Regions from separate parts of the Homo sapiens genome. Here regions 2, 3, 4, 5, 6 and 7 are each linked to region 1. Evidence: promoter capture Hi-C in human tissues and cell types (Jung and others, 2019). All regions are on one chromosome and are shown on one strand. Each heading gives the region's core, a stretch centred on a gene start or on the middle of the fragment in contact. The rest is flanking DNA. Distances are from core to core; before and after follow the strand shown. Region 1 holds the start of UGDH (UDP-glucose 6-dehydrogenase). Region 2 has its middle 31 kb from the start of N4BP2. Region 3 has its middle 12 kb from the start of KLHL5. Region 4 overlaps PDS5A (PDS5 cohesin associated factor A). Region 5 overlaps PDS5A (PDS5 cohesin associated factor A). Region 6 overlaps PDS5A (PDS5 cohesin associated factor A). Region 7 overlaps PDS5A (PDS5 cohesin associated factor A).

Evidence for each region. Contacts are between HindIII fragments. The study calls those that stand out against the background at their distance.
Region 2: a contact is called between a fragment that was not itself captured here and the fragment with the promoter of UGDH in region 1, in 2 of the 25 tissues and cell types used here (lymphoblastoid cells and mesenchymal stem cells).
Region 3: a fragment that was not itself captured here is called in contact with the fragment with the promoter of UGDH in region 1 in 1 of the 25 tissues and cell types used here (hippocampus).
Region 4: a contact is called between a fragment that was not itself captured here and the fragment with the promoter of UGDH in region 1, in 1 of the 25 tissues and cell types used here (aorta).
Region 5: a fragment that was not itself captured here is called in contact with the fragment with the promoter of UGDH in region 1 in 1 of the 25 tissues and cell types used here (thymus).
Region 6: a contact is called between a fragment that was not itself captured here and the fragment with the promoter of UGDH in region 1, in 2 of the 25 tissues and cell types used here (mesenchymal stem cells and small bowel).
Region 7: a fragment that was not itself captured here is called in contact with the fragment with the promoter of UGDH in region 1 in 3 of the 25 tissues and cell types used here (IMR-90 fibroblasts, lymphoblastoid cells and mesenchymal stem cells).

What each region holds. Positions count from the first base shown.
Region 1 is chr4:39,526,073-39,528,730 of GRCh38, forward strand. UGDH (UDP-glucose 6-dehydrogenase) reads right to left here and starts at 1,367. Exons shown (of 12, transcript NM_003359.4): 1 at 1,211-1,367. UGDH-AS1 (UGDH antisense RNA 1) reads left to right here and starts at 1,767. Exons shown (of 5, transcript NR_047679.1): 1 at 1,767-2,266. RefSeq lists silencers at 1,082-1,261, 1,512-1,811 and an enhancer at 2,192-2,251. The HindIII fragment of the contact is 14,033 bases long and covers 1-2,658 here.
Region 2 is chr4:40,024,981-40,027,638 of GRCh38, forward strand. No RefSeq gene overlaps it. Among named protein-coding and RNA genes, the nearest start is that of N4BP2, 31 kb to the right of the region's middle. The HindIII fragment of the contact is 3,515 bases long and covers 1-2,658 here.
Region 3 is chr4:39,048,821-39,051,478 of GRCh38, forward strand. It overlaps a transcript of KLHL5 not described here. Among named protein-coding and RNA genes, the nearest start is that of KLHL5, 12 kb to the right of the region's middle. The HindIII fragment of the contact is 3,232 bases long and covers 1-2,658 here.
Region 4 is chr4:39,947,328-39,949,985 of GRCh38, forward strand. All of the region lies in intron 2 of PDS5A (PDS5 cohesin associated factor A), which reads right to left. Among named protein-coding and RNA genes, the nearest start is that of PDS5A, 29 kb to the right of the region's middle. The HindIII fragment of the contact is 7,039 bases long and covers 1-2,658 here.
Region 5 is chr4:39,919,678-39,922,335 of GRCh38, forward strand. PDS5A (PDS5 cohesin associated factor A) reads right to left here. Exons shown (of 33, transcript NM_001100399.2): 7 at 642-722. Among named protein-coding and RNA genes, the nearest start is that of PDS5A, 57 kb to the right of the region's middle. The HindIII fragment of the contact is 5,182 bases long and covers 1-2,658 here.
Region 6 is chr4:39,899,150-39,901,807 of GRCh38, forward strand. PDS5A (PDS5 cohesin associated factor A) reads right to left here. Exons shown (of 33, transcript NM_001100399.2): 14 at 1,277-1,358. Among named protein-coding and RNA genes, the nearest start is that of PDS5A, 77 kb to the right of the region's middle. The HindIII fragment of the contact is 3,713 bases long and covers 1-2,658 here.
Region 7 is chr4:39,873,262-39,875,919 of GRCh38, forward strand. PDS5A (PDS5 cohesin associated factor A) reads right to left here. Exons shown (of 33, transcript NM_001100399.2): 20 at 1,028-1,151. Among named protein-coding and RNA genes, the nearest start is that of PDS5A, 100 kb to the right of the region's middle. The HindIII fragment of the contact is 9,111 bases long and covers 1-2,658 here.

The sequences.
Region 1 (2,658 bases), core at 117-2,616:
CAGCTCTCTACAGCATATTTTGCATAGGTACCCAGGAGCTAACGATGGGCATTATAGTTGGATACATCAGCTTCACACATTTTAATCATTTCCAGAAATTAAACAGTAAAAGATGCCTGACCAGAGAAAAATATTTAATCAGTAAGAAAGCCGGTATTAATTTTATGTCTAAGGGTTATCATGTAAAGCTGTGGAAGTAAACAAGAAGGAAGATGGATTATGCTTATCCAGTTATAGATTTTGTTAGAAAAAGGAGTACAGCAACGGGAGAAGAAATGAGATCTTTTCAATCAGGGTTGTCTACCCCTTACCTTAAACTGGATCCTGGCCACTAATAAGCACATCTCAGAGCAGACAGTCAGCTCTTTCATTTCCAGAACCCCCCTGAAGAAAGACTACTGTTCTCCATTTCTTAAGGGATTTGAAGAAACTCAAAGGCTCACTGTGTCTTTGAGGTCTGTCGATAGACAGCTACTGCTCTGTATGCCCATGAATAGATCCCTACCAGCGAACCCCTCTTTTCTCTATACTAGAATTCCTAACCCTACTAAGTTATCTTCCTATATATTTATAGGACGTATAATTTTTCAAGATCTCACACAAACATGGTCTCCCGAGGCACCCAGGAAAGGCCTTCCCCGACATCAAACAGAGCAATTCTGTGGTGTAGGGGGCCAACAATGGATTCCAGGACATCCCGGACAGATATCACGGCAGTCTTAGTATTTTGCTCTCAAGAGGGCTTTCTGGCTTCGTTTCTCTTTGGTTTCTTAAGAGGGGCGGCATGAGAAAAGCAGGAGCCCCTCAGGTGAGCAGACTCTTAAACACAAACAAAAGACTACGACTCTGCGGCCAAAATGAGGTCCCCAACGAGAGAACCGCTTCCTGTGGTGGGCGTTCGGCTTTGGAGGCGGCAGGGAAATCTCATCCAAGTCAGGAAAGTGGGTAAAGGCAGAAAGAGAAGGGGCTGGAAGACTCACGAGTCTTGAATAAGAAGCCCAGACGACCACATCCCCAGGACAGCAGTTCCAAAATGCGGTTCCCGCCCTAAGCCCCAAAGAGACGAAGGTCGTGAGACGGGAAGCCCGGGACCCAGCGCAGCGAGCGACCGGGAGCAGCGCGCACACCCCAGCCCCGCTCCCTCCACATCCCGCCCAGACCTGGGAGCATCCCGCCCGGGCGGCGGGGCCAGCCTGGGAGCGGCGCTTACCCACTTCCCAGCAGCAAGCGCAGGGACCGCTCCTATCCCGATCGTTCGGACAGCACCTTCCTACGGGCCGCGCCGCCGCAGCTTCTCCACCCGCGCCCCGCTCGATCTGAGCTCCCTCTCGGCGCACGCCCCTCCCTCAGGCTGCCACGCGTTACACTCTGAGTCCCGGGCCTGAGCCCGTATTTAAAGGCTTTTGCCTGCGAAGGCGGAGGCTTCATTCCCCCGCAGCCAGGCCCTCCTGGATTCTGCCCTCAGCTGCTTCCTAGCTCCCCCTCCCGCTACACAAGGCCCAGGGCCAGGTCCCTATTTCCTTCACGGCTCAGGGGCGGGGAGACTGGGGCTGGTCCTGGCTGGGAGGGCCTGCCCCGCCCCTGGCCTAGCTGGGCAAATCCGCTTTGGCCAGCTCAGCGGCTCCGCCCCTACCGCGAGCGGCGCTGGGCGGGGCTGCGTGCGTGGCGTGTCCGCTGGACCAGGGGACGGGGGCGCGCCGCAGGTGTAGGAGCTTTGCGCGCCTACCTGGCGGTCGTGGGTCGAGGAGGGGTCAAGAATTGTTGTCTAGCAGCCCTCTCCCCGCTGCCCTGTCCTGGCCGAGGCAAAGGCCGCGTGCGCTCCGCGTCTGCCAGGCTTTAGGGCTGCGCGGACACTGGGTGGGTGGTGGGCCGAGGCGACCGGAAGGTCCTGGCCGCCTTTCCGGTCTCCTCAGCACCCTGGAGCGCCGCCCTCGGGTTTCGGTCTCCTGGATCTGCGGGTCGGTCTCGGCGGGCGGATTACTCCTCGCCCACAACCTCGAGGCCCCGGGGTCAACCGCGCCCTCCGGGCCGGCAACCCAGGGTTTAGTCAGATTCCTCCTGACCCACCGCTTCTGGGAAAGAGGCGCCTCCCGTCAGGAGGATGCTGAGTTCCTCATGACTGGACCAGTGAGTGTCCACTCCCTGGTCCCTGGCGAGAGAGGCGGGACCCCCACGCCCTCCTGGCGCTCTTTGCAGAGATGTTCCTCAGGCCCAATCCGGGATTTGGGATGTCTGTGCGTGCTGTGGAGCAGAGAGTTTGCAACATGTAAGTGCCGTGCGTGAGGAAGAGTAAAATTAACCTATGGAGCCTGCTCATTTTTAATGTGGAGGGCAGTTCCGTTCCTTTCTTTCGCCGCTTCGAGGTCATTTTAACACTCAAATCTAACATATAAGAAAAAAAGCCAGGCATAATCATGGCCTTTTATTTCCCTCATTAAGGATTACATCAGGTGACATAAGCCATTTTAACATACATCATGAAGAAAGTGATTAGTAATTTATAAAGGCACATTAAAATACCATATAAATTACGGTTTTCTTGATAGGATCATGATGGTGACTTTAAGAAAGTGGTTGAATGTGGATGAAACAGTTTGCTGTGGATTGTAGCACGTGTGGCAGGATATGTAGGCTTGTTGGTTGGTTGTTTTGAGACGG
Region 2 (2,658 bases), core at 73-2,572, 500 kb after region 1:
GGTGGATCACTTGAGGTCAGGAATTTGAGACCAGCCCGGCCAACATAGTGAAATCCCATCTCTACTAAAAATTCAAAAAAAATTAGCCAGGTGTGGTGGCACACGCCTGTAATTCCAGCTTCTCTGGAGGCTGAGGCAGAAGAATTACTTGAACCTGGGAGGCAGAGGTTGCAGTGATTCGAGATCGCGCCATTGCATTCCAGCCCGTGTGACAGAGCGAGACTCCATCTCAAAAAACAAAACTAAACATAAATGCACTGTAACTTTGTCATACAAGGGAATATGAAAAGTAGTCAAATGGACTAAAGTTACCTATACAAACATGGAAAAATGTAAAAATTACCTCAAAATGGATTATAGATTTAGATGTGAAATGTAAAACTATAAGCTTTTAGAAGAAAACATAGGAGAAAATCTTCAAGACCTGTGCCTTGTTGAGGAATTCTTAGATGTGACACCAAAAGCACAATCCATAAAAAAACTGATAAATTGGACTTCATCAAAATTAAAAACTTTTGTTGTGATTTACCAATCACATATCTGATAAAGGACTCATATCTAGACTATACGAAGAATTTTCAACTCAACAGTAAATAAACAAAAACAAAACCAATTAGAAAATGAGTAAAACCCAGCCAGGCATGGTGGCTCACACTGGTAATCCCAGCACTTTGGGAGGCCAAGGTAGGAGGATTCCTTGATCCCAGGAGTTTGAGACCAGCCTAGACAACATTAATGAGACCCTCACCTCTACAAAAAATTAAAAAATTTAGCCAGGTGTAGTGACACACAACTGTAGTCCCAGCTTGGAAGGTTGAGGTGGGAGGATCACTTTAGCCCAGGAGGTTGAGGCTGCAGTTAACTGTGATCGTGCCACTGCACTCCAGCCTGGGTAACAGAGCAAGACTTTGTCTCAAAAAAATTAAAAAATTGGCCAGGCACAGTGACTCATACCTGTAATCCCTGCATTTTGGGAGGCTGAGGCGGGCAGATCACTGGAGGTCAGGAGTTCAAGACCAGCCTGTCCAACATGGTGAAAGCCTGTCTCTGCTAAAAATACAAAAATTGCCGGGCATGGTGGTGCTTGCCTGTAATCCCAGCTACTTGGGAGGCTGAGGCAGGAGAATTGCTTGAACCTGAGAGATGGAGGTTGCAGTGAGTTGAGATCGTGCCACTGCACTCTAACCTGGGTGACAGAGTGAGACTCTGTTTCAAAAAAGAAAAAAAGAAAGAAGAAAGGAGGACTCCAGGAGAGAATGAAAGTTGTGTTATGGTTGTCGGAAACTAAAACTAAATGCCCTGTAGAATTATCAATCATGTAAATCCAGAAACAGGCAATCCAGCTCATTTTGAGGAAATTACATAACTGGAATCAGGCCTTATGTATCCCTTTGAGACTGGCTTTTTCAGGCTGCATAATGCCCTAGAAAGCCACCTAAGTTTTTGCATGTATCAATAGGTTGTTCTTTTTTAATGCTGGGTATTCCATGGTATGGATGTACCACAGTCTATTTAACCATTCACCATTTTTTTAAAAACTATTTATTTATTTTATTTTGAGATGGAGTCTCGCTCTGTCACCCAGGCTGGAATGCAGTGGCACGATCTCGGCTCACTGCAACTTCTGCCTCCCAGGTTCAAGCGACTCTCCCACCTTAGCCTTCTGAGTAGCTGGGATTACAGGCGTGCGCCACCACACTCAGCTAATTTTTGTATTTTTAGTAGAGACAGAGTTTCACCATGTTGGCCAGGCTGGTCTCAAACTCTTGACCTCAAGTGATCCACCTGCCTTGGCTTCCCAAAGTGCTGGGATTACAGATGTGAACCACCATGCCCTGCTCGGTCTCTGTCTTTACTGTTGAAAGCTTTCCTCAAAGGTCTGATGATCCTTGAATATTTGGTCAGATTTTTAACTGAACCACTGCATAGCTGACTGGAAGCTCTGTGTGAGTGGGCAGGTCTTGTCAACTTGTGAGCTTATTTTTAGATTCCCTAGGTAGTCAGCCAGCTTTTGTGTTCAGGTATGTGTGTGGTACCCCAAATGACAGTATGTGTAGGTATTTTCTCTGTAGCAATTTACTTTATCTGGAGAAAAACTAATTTTCTGCTTGGCTATTGGCTTTGTAGCACTGGACTGAGGAATCTCACAGTTCAATATGTAGACCTTTTTTTGTTAAAAAAAAAAAAAGCAAGTACTACTAAACTAATCTTCTGCCTGGCTATTGGCTCTGTAGCACTGGACTGAGGAATTTCACAGTTCAATATGTAGACTTTTTTCCTTATTTTTTTTTCTGAGATGGAGTCTTGTCTGTCGCCCAGGCTGGAGTGCAGTGGCACGATCTTGGCTCACTGCAACCTCCGCCTCCTGGGTTCAAGCGATTCTCCTGCCTCAGCCTCCTGAGTAGCTGGGATTACAGGTGCACACCACCATGCCTGTCTAATAAAAATTAGACATTTTTAGTAGAGACGAGGTTTTACCATGTTGGTCAGGCTTGTGTTGAACTCCTGACCTTGTGATCCGCCCACCTTGGCCTCTATGCCTGGATGCCCTTTTTTTGTTAAAAAAAAAAAAAAAGAAAAAGAAAACAAAGCAAGTACTCTGGAAACTCTGTAGACTTTTTTTTTTTTTTTTTGAGATGGAGTCTCACTCTGTTGCCC
Region 3 (2,658 bases), core at 81-2,580, 480 kb before region 1:
TGTAGTAGAGACGGGGTTTCATCATGTTGACCAGCCTGATCTCCAACTCCTGACCTCATGATCCACCTGCCTCAGCCTCCCAAAGTGCTGGGATTACAGGTGTGAACCACCGCGCCTGGTGTACATTGGCTCTTCAGGGCTTCTGTCTGGAAGTGACACTTAACTTCCACTGCTATTTCATTGGCCAAAAGTCACTTGACTACACCCAACTTCAAGGAGATGGGGAAATGCATTTCTACCATGTGCCCAGAAAGAGGAGAACTGGAATAGTCTGTGAACGGTCTTAATGACTACTAAAGAGGCTTCAGAGTCCCATGAGCTAACACAGAATCTAAATAAATCAAAAGCCAAATATGTCAGTACAGTATTCTATTTAGAAAATAGAAAACAGCATTTCTTTGTGTATGTGAGTGTGTTTAAACAGAATTATGCTAATGAGAATTATGAAGAATGTCTTTTATTAGTTTGAAATGAAATGCTTTTGAGAACTTCACAATTAAGTTTGTTATTTTGGCCAAATGAATTTCATTCTTTTTAAATTGTATGTCCATTCAATAAACATTTGTTGAATGTGTATAAGGGGCCAGGTGTAGTGGCTCAAGACTGTGCAGTCCCAGCACTTTGGGAGGCCAAGGTGGGAGGATTCTTCAGTCCAGGAGTTTTGAGACCAATCTGGACAACGTAGTGAGACCCTATGCCTACAAAAAATAAATAAAATTAGCTGGGTGTAGTGGCATGTGTCTCCAGTCCGAGCTTCCTTGGGGGCGGGGGTAGGGAGGTGAGATGATTGATCATTTGTGCTTGGCAGGTCAAGGCTGCAGTGAGCCATGATCAGGCCACTGCCCTCCAACCTACGGGACAGCAAGACCTTGTCTCAAAAATAAATAAATAAAAAATAAATAAATAAATAAATAAATGAAAGTGTATAAGGCACTGTGTTAGGCCTGTGAGGATAAAAAGATAAATGAGGGTCGGGCATAGTGGCTCACGCTTTTAATCCCAGCACTTTGGTAGGCTCAGGTGGGCAGATCACCTGAGGTCAGGAGTTCGAGACCAGCCTGGCCAACATGGTGAAACCACATCTCTACTAAAATTACAAAAAATATTAGCTGGGCATCATGGTGCACGCCTGTAATCCCAGCTACTCCAGAGGCTGAGGCAGGAGAATCGCTTGAACCCGGGAAGCAGAGGTTGCGGTAAGCTGACATCACGCCACTGCACTTCATCCTGGGCGACAGAGTGAGACTCCATCCCAAAAATAAATAAATAAATAAGTGGGGAGTTTACAATCACAATAGAAAATAGCTATACTTGAGTTTTCTCTCCCTTTCTCTTTAAGGCATCATTTACAGTATGTAAATGATGTGTATACACACATATATAAAATAGTGAAAAATACTAAATATATAAACTGTTACACTTTGTTCCTCTCTGCCTTTTTGGACTTAAGGAGTATTTCATGACAAATTAAACAATGTTACTTAAATTAGCATAAGCAAAAGAAATGTTATGTTAGAAAAGGAATATAGTTTGTATCAGAGTCCAAGGGCAAGAAGTACAGCTGGGCCTCAAAGCAACTGGCACCAATAACAGAAAGCTAGGAGCTAGGGCTACTTTCTCTCTCTCCAAGTCTATATGATTTCTTGCTAGTGTCTCTCTCTGCACATGTATTTCTTTCTTCTTTTTCTCTATTGATTAATTTTTCTCTATTTTGCTGTTACATGGATGTTTTAATCTAAGAGTTTATGAACTTGAAACTAGAGGCTTTAACAATTTCAGACAATCTAAAAATGTTTAAGTGCATTGTCTTTGTAAGCTCTTAACCACCAGACTTAGGAAATAATGCAGTTGACTCTAAGGTATAACAAATTAGTGTAATTGACAACTTTATAGTAGAGAAAGAGGCAGTTATAATAGCTTTCAATCAAAGAAACCGAGGTGCCATGGAAAGTTCTACACAATTAACATGAGCTTGCAAATTCTAGTGAGACAGGCTGATTATGATAATCAGGATAAGAAGGTATAACTGGATCTGACTTAAGTAACTACGATATTCCCTCCCTGAACACTGGCAAATGCCATCTCCATTGTAATCCTTTCATCCATCCCTTCTTCCTCTCCCAGGGTAAGGATTGACTGAATTGTCTAACTCTTATAAGTCATCTGCTTTGATCCTGATACAGAGCTTCCTGGCTTCTCCTCATGGGTAATAATGCAGGAAGAACGGCACATGTAATATACTACCTAGCTCTGCTCTTTTCTTCCATCCAAACTGGTCTCCTAGACACTCTTTATCTGGACATTTTACATTTTAACATGCTATTATCATATCTCTTCACCAATTTAATCTAATTTTATTCTCAATAAATTTCTATCATTTTCTGTTAGACTCGTGTATGTAGCTTCACTAGCAGAATTCCCTTGCATTTTCAAACTACGCGATAATCTCCTTTCTTCCTGTTTGAAAAATATCCATAGCTTCACCTCATCAGTGGCCGAAGAGATTAACTATGGGGAGATGGTATATGTTACCTGAAGAGGATTTCCCAGAAAAAAAAAAAAAACAAGAATATGAGTAAAAGCTGTGTATGAGATTAGATTCAGGTTGTAGAATATCTGGAATGTCATATTAAGACTCTTAGACACTTGTTTCTGTGC
Region 4 (2,658 bases), core at 89-2,588, 420 kb after region 1:
GCCTGTACTCCCAGCTACTCAGGAGACTGAGGCAGATAACTTGAACCGGGAGGCGGAGGCTGCAGTGAGCCAAGATCATGCCACTGCACTCCAGTCTGGGTGAGAGAGAGACTGTCTGAAAGGGGGGAAAAAAAAGAGAGAGGAAACATGAAATAAACATGAGGGAGTAAACCTGCTTTCTAACAGTAGTGTCCAATCCTTTGGCTTCCCTGGGCCACACTGGAAGAAGAATTGTCTTGGACCACACATAAAGTACACTAACACTAATGATAGCTAATAACCTTAAAACAAACAAAAAAAATTGCACAATAGTCTCATAATGTTTTAAGAAAGTTTATGAATGTGTGTTGGGCCACATTCAAAGCCATCCTGGGTCACATGTGACCCACGGGCTGTGAGTTGGACCAAGCTTGTTTATAAGAACCCACTTTTTGGGTAACTAATCCAGTCCCAGAAGAGTGAGAACTCACTCTCACAAGATGGCATTATCTATTCATGAGGGACTGGCCCCATGATGGAACACCTCCCAGTAGGCCCCAATTCCCAACACTGCTGCAATGAGAACCAAACTTCAACATAAGTTTTGGTGAGGACAAACCTTATCCAAATAATGGCAATGTCCACACAAAAATTTGCACATAAGCCAGGAATGGTGGCTCACTCCCATGATCTTAGCAATTTGGAAAGACAAGGAGGGAGGATGCCTTGAGACAAGGAATGCAAGACTAGCCTGGGCAACAACTGCAAGACCCCATTTCTACTAAAGATTTAAAAATTAGCTGGGTATGGTAGCACGTACCAGTAGTCTCAGCTACTTGAAAGACTGAGGCAGCAGGATTCCTTAAGCTCAGGAGGTAGGCAACACAGCAAGATATCCCGTCTCAAAAAAAAAAAAAAAAAAAGAAAGAAAGAAAAAGAAAAGAGAAATTTGCACAAGAATGTTTATAGCAGCATTATTCACAATAGCCAAAAGGTGAATCAAACCTTTTTTTTTTTTTTTTTTTTTTTGAGATGGAGTCTTGCTCTGTCACCCAGGCTGGAGTGCAATGGTGCGACCTCGGCTCACTGCATTACTGCAACCTCCGCCTCCCGGGTTCAAGCAATTCTCTGCCTCAGCCTCCCGAGTAGCTGGGTTTATAGGCGCCTACCACCAGGCCCTGCTAATTTTTGTATTTTTAGTAGAGATGGGGTTTTACCATCTTGGCCAGGCTGGTCTTGAACTGCTGACCTCATGATCCACCTGCCTCGGCCTCCCAAAGTGCTGGGATTACACGTGTGAGCTACCACGCCTGGATTTTTTTTTTTTTTTTTTTTAAAGACCGAGTCTCACTCTGCTGCCCAGGCTGGAGTGCAGTGGTGCCATCTCAGCTCACTGCAACCTCTGCCTCCTGGCTTCAAGCAATTTTCCTGCCTCAGCCTCCTGAGTAGCTGGGATTAAAGGCATGTGCCACCATGCCCGGATAATTTTTCTATTTTTAGTTGAGATGGCATTTCACCATGTTGGCCAGGCTGGTCTTGAATTCTTGACCTCAGATTATCTGCCCACCTTGGCCTCCCAAAGTTCTGGAATTAGAGGTGTGAGCCACTGAGCCCAGCCCAACCCCATTTATTATCAACTAACAAACGGATAAACAAAATTTGGTACACCTATACACTACAGTATTATCTGGCCATAAAAGGTATAATGAAAGCCAGGCATGGTGGCTCACACCTGTAATCACAGTACTTTGGGAGACCAAGGCCAGAGATCACCTGAGCACAGGATTTTGAGACTGGGCAACATAGTGAAACCCTGTCTCTACAAAAAACACCAAAAAAAAAAAAGATAGCCAGGTGTGGTGGCACATGTCCATAGTCCCAGCTACTCAGGAAGCTGAGGCAGGAGGATTGCTTGAATGCGGGAGGTCGAGGCTTCAGTGAACCCAGATGGAGCCACTACATTTTAGCGTGGATGAAAGAGCAAGAACCTATCTCAAAAAAAAAAAAAAAAAAAAGAACTGATGGTATGACTGGGCGAAATGTTATGCTAACTGAAATATGCCAGCCACAACAGACCACTTGCTTATGATTCCATTTATATGAAATGTCCAGATCGGGGAAATGTACATAGACAAAAAGTAGGTTAGTGATTCCTTAGGACTGTGGGGAGGAATATGAGGGTAATAGCTAATGGACACAGGGACTTCATTTTGAGATGATAACTGTTCTAAAACTGACTACGAGCTGGTCAAAGTGGCTCACACAATCCCAGCCCTTTGGGGTTCTGAGGCAGGTGGATGGATCATTTGAGCCCAGGAGTTCAAGACCGGACTGGGCAACAGGTGAAACCCCATCTCTAAAAAAAAAAGTTTCAACAATTAGCTTGGCATGGTGGCGCACACCCGGCTACGCAGGAGGCTGGGGTGGCACAATCACTGAACTTGCAGGGGCCAGGGCTGCAGTGCATTGCACCACTGCACTCCAGCCAGGGCGACAGAATAAGACTCTGTCTCAGAAAAAAAAAAAAAAGAAAAACACCACAAAAAACCTGACTGTGGCAATCACTGCAAGCATTTGTGATGATACTAAAAACAACCATACATTTTATTTTATTTTTGAGACAGAGTTTGCTCTTGTTGCCCAGGATGGAGTGTAATGGCATGATCTCGGCTCACCACA
Region 5 (2,658 bases), core at 111-2,610, 390 kb after region 1:
AAATAGTTATAAATATGAGCAAATGAACAATGGAATTAGTTGCTATAAGGTAGTGAGATTGCAAACTTTTTTTTCCAAATTATTGATTTTTTTAGGAAAAACAAACCCAGAACAAATTCCTCAGTAAACCTTTTTTTAACTATTACTATGTAGCAACTATCACAATCTTTCATTACTGAAAAGTATTTAAATCTTTGCCAAAAACAACAGGCAAAACAACCAAACCATTTTCTAAATAAATCTCTGTAATCTTAAAAAAATAAAATAAAAAAAAAAGGAAGAAACATTACAGGACTTCAGAAGAATGACCCAAAAGAAACAAAGAAAAAAATATATAGAGAGAGACACAGAGACCCAAGGAAAATATGAAAGAGATCAGCATATCTGGGAGACAATGAAATAAACATAAATACAAATGCAGATAAGGGGATGGGAGTTGCAGACGACTTTTCTTATAGTAATATCCACCCTTTAAAAACGTCATGAAACTTATGCTGCATTTCTCTAACCCTGGTCACATCTGGACATAAGTTATTTTATATTTATAAGCTAAATAAACTTTTATGTAAGAGGTTCTAATAAATTAATACAATGGATTAAGAATTACAAAATATAGAATAAACATAGAAAGAAATACATACATTAGCAATGCATGCCTCAATAGTCTGGACTGTTCTTTTCAATAGCACTTTTGCAAGGTCAAAGGACTGTTTATTTAAGTTCTGAAAAATAATAAAAACATGGAAAGTTACAAATAAATGTTAATTTATGAGATAGTAACATTAGAATACTGTAGTCTTCAAATCTGTAATAAAATATGAATTTTGCTTCACTAAAATATGAAGCAAAAATAAAAATAACTGAGTTCTCTTCAAGGTTTTGCCAAATATCCTCTAGTCAAGTGATCTTAAATGCAGACGTTGCAAATCGAACTAATTTATTAATCAAAAACTAAAATGGGTTAGTTAGCAAAAGCACAACACTATATTGTTTTATTAAACTCAAAACAGACCTAATGCTTTTTGGTTTTATCTGTTAACCAATGTAAACTGACAACTACACCCACGTATCTTAAACACATACACTCCCTGATCTAACACAACATGCTCAATTATTTCATTGTTTAATCAATGCGTGCTCTGGAGAAGAGTAGACCTGGTAAGCGTTTCAAATAAAAAGCGTTCTTGATCAATTGTATTTTTGAAATGCTTAATACTATGCTCCCGTTTCAAGAGTCCCAATGTACTCAAATAAATTAAAGGATCTGAGAAGGACCTTAGAAAATATATTATTTAATTTTTTTTAAATGCCTGAAAAGGGAATTCTTGTTTTGAATAATACCTATTAACATTGCTATATCTTGAAGTTTTGGATCAAACAGATTCATTCACCATCATCTAACACCTCTTCCAAAACAAGGCTAGGAAACCCTACACTCTAGGCCAGGGGTCAGCAAACTTTTTCTATGAAGGGCCACATGGTAAATATTTTAGGTTTTGTGGGTCATACAAATCACTGCAACAACTACACAACTCTGCTGTTGTAGCATGAAAGCAGATATAAACAAAACGAAAACGAATGAACATGGCTGTGTTCCAATAAAATCTTACTTACATAAATAAGCAATAGTCCAAATCTGATCAACAAGCCATAGCTTCTTGACCCCTGCTCTATACTTTTATTTCATTGGCAAAGGATAAGATTTGCTTAAAATTAAGTTAACATTTCTATTTCTTAAAAGAAGTCTATTTCCTACTACTAATAAAAATGCTCTCAAGCCAGATGTGGTTGCTCATGCCTGTAATCTCAGCACTTCGGGAGGCTAAAACGGGCAGATCGCTTGAGCCCAGGAGTTTGAGATAAGCCTGGGCAACATAGCGAAACCCTGTTTCTACAAAGAAAACTTAAAAAAAAAAAAAAAAAAAAAAGCCAGGTATGGTGGCACATGCCTGTATTGCCAGCTACTTGGGAGGCTGAGGTAGGAGGATCACTTGAGCCCAGGAGACAGAGGCGGCAATGAGCCAAGATAGTGCCGCTGCACTCCAGCCTAGGTGACAGAGTGAGACCCTGTCCCAAAAAAATACCACCAACCTACTTACCTAGTATATAAAAACCAAATATACTGTCTTAATCTGCCAAAATATACTCTCCTTTGCCATAGTCTCAGAATTTTTATAAACTACAGAATTTTGTAAACTACATTTGAATTAATAAAATGTAAATAATATTTAAACTCGAGAAGAATTTAAAATTAATTATATCTTTCTGTGAATGAGTATAATTGGACAGATTTTTCCTCTAATGTCTGATAACAGGATACTGAACCACTAGAAGAAAAGAGCAGGAGAGCAAATATCAACATTGGGGTAGGCCTGAGTAGAGCCCAGTGGTGGAGCCTGAGGGCAGCCAAGTCCTTCAGATTCTTAGGAGGATCTGGTGGAGATAAATAGAAAAAGGAAACAGGGAAGAATGATACACCTTTGAATCATCCTTTTCTTCTTAACATTAACCATATAGCTTCTGCCCAAATCTTTTTCTGAGAGTACCTAAGAAAAAGGTACGATACGGATTCTGAAAAGAAATCCAAACTCCTATGTTTCACATCTATGTTAAAAAGGAGGAAATACATTTCTTTTCCAAACAAAGTTAACCAAAAGG
Region 6 (2,658 bases), core at 62-2,561, 370 kb after region 1:
TTATCATATCAGAATTACTATGAAACTACATGCCACAAAAAATTAACTAAAAATATAGAGAAGAAACTTTTTTTTCTGCAATAGAGTTCTGTTAGCTACTTTGTGGCCCGTTACTTAAATACCTTCAGGAAAACCTCCTTTCTAAAACGTACTTCCCTTTCCTGTATCCCATAAAACATTACTTATTAGTTTTCATTTATACTAAATTTGAATAATTTAGTTCAAAAGTTAGAAAACTATGCCCCCATGAGCTACCTGTTTTTGTTAGTAGTTTCGATGGAATATAGTCATGTCCATTCATTTATTTATCGTGTATGACTAATTTTGCAAAGGCAGGGTTGAATATCTGACCACAGACTCTATGCCTTGCAAAATATGTTTTTGCTATCTGTTGATTTATTTTCAAAGTTTGCTAGGCTAGGTGCAGTATCTCACACCTGTAATCCTAGCAATTTGGGAGGCCTAGGCAGGCAGACTGCATGAGCCCAAGATTTTGAGACCAGCCTGGGAAACATGGTGAAAACTCACCTCTACAAAAAACATACAAAACCTAGCTGGGTATGGTGGAGCACACCCGTAGTCCCAGCTATTCAGAAGGCTGAGGTGGGAGGATCACCTCAGCCCAGTGACATCGAGGCTGCAGTGAGCTGTGATCATGCCACTATGCGACAGCCTGGGCAACAGAGTAAGATCCTGTGTATTAAAAAAAAAAAAAAAAAAAAAAAAAAAAGTTTGCCCGCCCCTGTTCCAGCATCCATGTGTCCTTGAGGGGTCTGTTTATATGGTCCCCTGGTTAAGAACACCTATTCTAGTGAACACACGTAAAAATGTAAAGTTTTTTTCCCCAACCTTGCAAAAATTTAATGGCATTTCTTTTTTAGTTTGCCATTGGCATATTTATAGGATTGATATCTGATATTCACTCTACACTGAGAGACCATGAATCATGCAGTGAAAAAGAAATATGATGTTTAATGTAATTTTATCTCAAAATTTAATTCTAATTATTTGAAAATTGATTAACTATAAACTCTTAGTGTCTGAAAACTTTATATAAACTAGAAAACACCATTTCTTTGCTCACACTAGAAAATAAGAGTTTGTTATATTTATTTTAAATGGAAATTTAGCTTGGACAACTACAGAAATTATATTTAACTGACATTTGGAAAATAAAACAACTGAGATACTTTTTCCCTGCTTCATTACGTAGAACTACAGAAAATCTGAACAGTGACTATAATAAACTATGAATTTAAACAAATCATGAACCTACTGTAGGCTGCTTGTGCAAATCCAATAGTTCGCGTACATGGCTCCGAAGCATGTTCTGACACTTCCACATTTCGTTGAGAGCTCTGTAAAGTTATGAATATGAAAACACACATTACATAACAATACTGGAAATTATTCAGCTTTACAACCTTTCTTGTTGCATGCTGTATATACACCATTCTTCTACATCTACCTAAAAGTTTAAATACCGGGAAATATATTTATTAGGATTTAAAACAATTTAGTACAAATGGTAAATATAAGCCTTCTTATGAGAGAAAATATTTGAGAGGTTTAGAAAGATTAATAAGTAATACAGGGATTGAAAGATGTACTAAATACAGGTAGCTAGAAAGTTTTGGTACAAGGAAAGAAAATCTCAAAGTGCAAGGGACATAAAACAAACTGAAAAACATGTATACGCTTGGAGCACAAGGCATGTGTGTGGAGCATAAGGAAGCTGGAGCATTCCACAGACACAGATCAAATCATGAAGGCCTTATTAAAAAGGCTAAGGCATATACATGAAGCACTATAGACTATTTTGAAAAATGAAGTATCAAAAATGATGCAGATTCAAGATGCCAAATTTACATTATTGTGTTTATTCTAAACTTTTCTCTCTCCAGGAACACAGATTTTCTTCTCTCAGAAATCCCATCCATATTTCCAGGTGCCCAGATGACCTCTGAGAATTACTAATCTCTAAACACTCTTTGTCAGATATTTTGAAATGTAAACAAACATCAAAACCTTAAGCAAGGAAAGGGATTAGTAACCATGATACAACACTATCGTAATAGAATTTCTGCCAAAATGACAGTCTTTTTTTCTTTTCTTTCTTTTTTTTTTTTTTTTTTTTGAGACAAGTCTCACTCTGTTGCCCAGGCTGCAGTACAATGGGATAATCTCGGCTCACTGCAACATCTGCCTCCTGGGTTCAAGCAATTCTCCGGCCTCAGCCTCCCTAGTAGCTGGGATTACAGGCGTGCACCACCATGCCCAACTAATATTTTTGTATTTTTAGTAGAGATGGGGTTTCACCATGTTGGCCAGGCTGGTCTCGAACTCCTAACCTCAAATTATCTGCCTGCCCTGGCCTCCCAAAATGCTGGGATTACAGGGGTTAGCCTCCACGTCCGGCCTAAAAATGCAGTCTTAATCTAATAATGCAGGAACACTTGAAGAAGCCACAATGGCAAACAGTCAAATTCCTAACTCAAAATTCTCTCTCTTTTTTAAGACAGAATCTCACTACATTGCCCAGGATGGTCAAGCTTCTAGGCTGAAAAGATCCTTCCATCTTCAGATCAGAATTCTTAATGACATCACTCATTTACTTTGTGTATTTTTGACAAAAATTACATATACGATGGTGTACAA
Region 7 (2,658 bases), core at 62-2,561, 350 kb after region 1:
TAATACGATCATAACTAACTTCAACCATGTTAAGACACCTGGTTCTTAATTCACCTACTAAAATTTAGCAAGATTGAAAGAATGTAGAAAAAAGATAAAAGAAAAAATAAAATCCAACAAAAAGAAGTTTAAAGAAAAACATTTTTGCTTCATCAAATCAGCATTATTTTTGACTAATCTACAACAATGGATTTGCTATACCAGTGGTTTTCTTACCCTGTGGAAGCATTTTAAATGACCTTAAATCATACAAAGTAAGAGTTCACTGGGTTTTGGTCACACTATCTCCAATTTATGATAATAGGAATACATTTCTAATAGTAAAATGAGGCCAGTCATTATATGTAAAAAAAAGGGAAACAGGATTAATTTTCAGGTAGGGTTCTTAGGTACTTTAAACTGGATTGTTCAAAATTATCTACTAATACTTTCCGAGGATAAATGCACCACTGAACCAATAAGGCTAAAATTAAGTAAAATGTTCTAACATAAACACATAAGGCTAGGTGTGGTGGCTCATGTGTGTAATCCTAGCACTTTGAAAGACTGAAGTGGGTGGATCGCTTCAGTCCAGGAGTTTGAGACCAGCCTGGGCAACATGGCAAAACCCCATCTCTATAAAAAAATCCAAAAATTAGCTAGGCATGGTGGTGGTGCCTGTACTCTCAGCTACTTGGGAGGCTGAGGCAGAAGGACTGCTTGAACCTAGGAATTCGGGGCTGCAGTGAGCAGAGATTGCATCACTGTACTCCAGCACTGGTGAGAAAGTGAAACTTTATCTCAAAAACAAACTAAAAAACAAAAACCACAAAACCCTTCAATATGAGGTGTTTGAACATATAATCTGATCTACAGGCTGGGAATGCAGTACCACATAAAATAGACAGAATCCTTGCTCACAAGGAATTTATAGTCTAAGGTAGGACTTCATATAAACAGCTTTAAAAAATCTAGCTTCCATCTTCATCAAACTATAGAGCTTAAAAAATAAAGACCAATATAAACACAACCTATATATTAGATATACCTCAAAAATCTGTGCAAGCTGGACTTCTTTATTTGTGAATATGGCGTGTATACAGTGCACAGCCTGTTTTGCTTGGTGTGGAGTACCCCTCTTTGCTTTTTGATGTAAAATGGGAATTAAGGTCCTGCAAAAAATAATATAGTTGTTTTTTTTTCTTAAACCCATAAACCAACAAGTATTCCTTTGGTTGACTTCCACTTCCCCTATATGGATGGATGCTAGTAGAGAAGGCTCTCTTAAAAATTATCTGATCTAAAGAAAGTTGTAAAAAAGCTCCATCTCTGCCCCCAAGTATAAACCAAGAAATACAATGCCTCAAGAAAAAGCCTACTTCAGGAGACAATTTTTATTTTAAAGTTACCTCACAAATATGCAAAATAACAAGCAACCCTTAATTCATAATCTAAAGCTTACCCCATGACATATTTTTGCATTTACCTTCTAAGTAGCAATATTGCTAATTTTTCAATTCCCTTTTATAATCCCCTTCAGTTATTTCAAAGTAGCTACAGAAAGAGAGTAGCAAAAGGCCAAGTTGTATTAAACAGCTGAAATAATACTAGTGAAAGAAAGTATGCAAAGATACAGCTACATATATATCAGTAGAATGGCAATAAAAATATCTAACTATTATGTGCCAGGCACCATTCTAGGTATTTCCGCATGGATTAATTCAACTAATGTTCACATCCACCCAAAGAAGACTATCATAGTCATTACACAGATGAGAAAATTAAAGCACAAAGATGTTATTTAAGCCTCCTAAGATGACGAAGCTAGGAAACTGGGAGTTGGGATTTGAAAATTAGCATTTCTTTCAAAATCCACATACTTAACCTCTACACTGACAATGAAGAGTAAACTAAAACAGTCTTCTTTTAGGATGACAGAAAAACATAAAGCATTCTTCAAAAATTAAATGTTGATGACATGAAAAAGCATTAGGTAGAATGAAGAAAATAGTGTGCATATATGAACTTATAAAAAATAGACAAACACATCTAGTAGATGAACATTCATAGAAAGTATATATATCAAATGTTAATGGTGACTATTTCGTTATATTTTTTCTAGTTTCAGTTTGCTACAATGAACGTAAGTATTTTTATAATCAGAATAAAATTGATAAAACGAAACAAACATTTAAGGAAAGATATTTGTCATATATTTAATGTTATTAGAGAAGAGCCTATTTTATAAAGTTAGTGGCATCAAATGCAAGGGTGACAATGCCCTCTTATGATAATGGAAGGCTACATATGAAACCTATACTGCAGGCTCCAGGCCATGCACTTTAACCAAAAATGGGAACATATGCTAGTTGGTATGAATCTGATTTGACATGTATAAATATGCCTGAAGTTTGCCTCTATGGACTTTGGAATTATGAGATAGGGATGTCCATGACCAAACAGACTTCCTTGACTGAGTATTGACTATGCTTCTAAATGGAAGATGTCTTTCCTCTCTCCTATCTGTTTAGTCTTTCACCATTCCATTTACCAGACTGAGATTTCTTATAACACTGGTGAATGACAAAGGAAGATAGTTTCAATCAAACTGTTGTTAAATGTATTATTATTATTAGCCAAATAAAATAATACAGAAAGTCAACTTTAACCTTTCTTCTT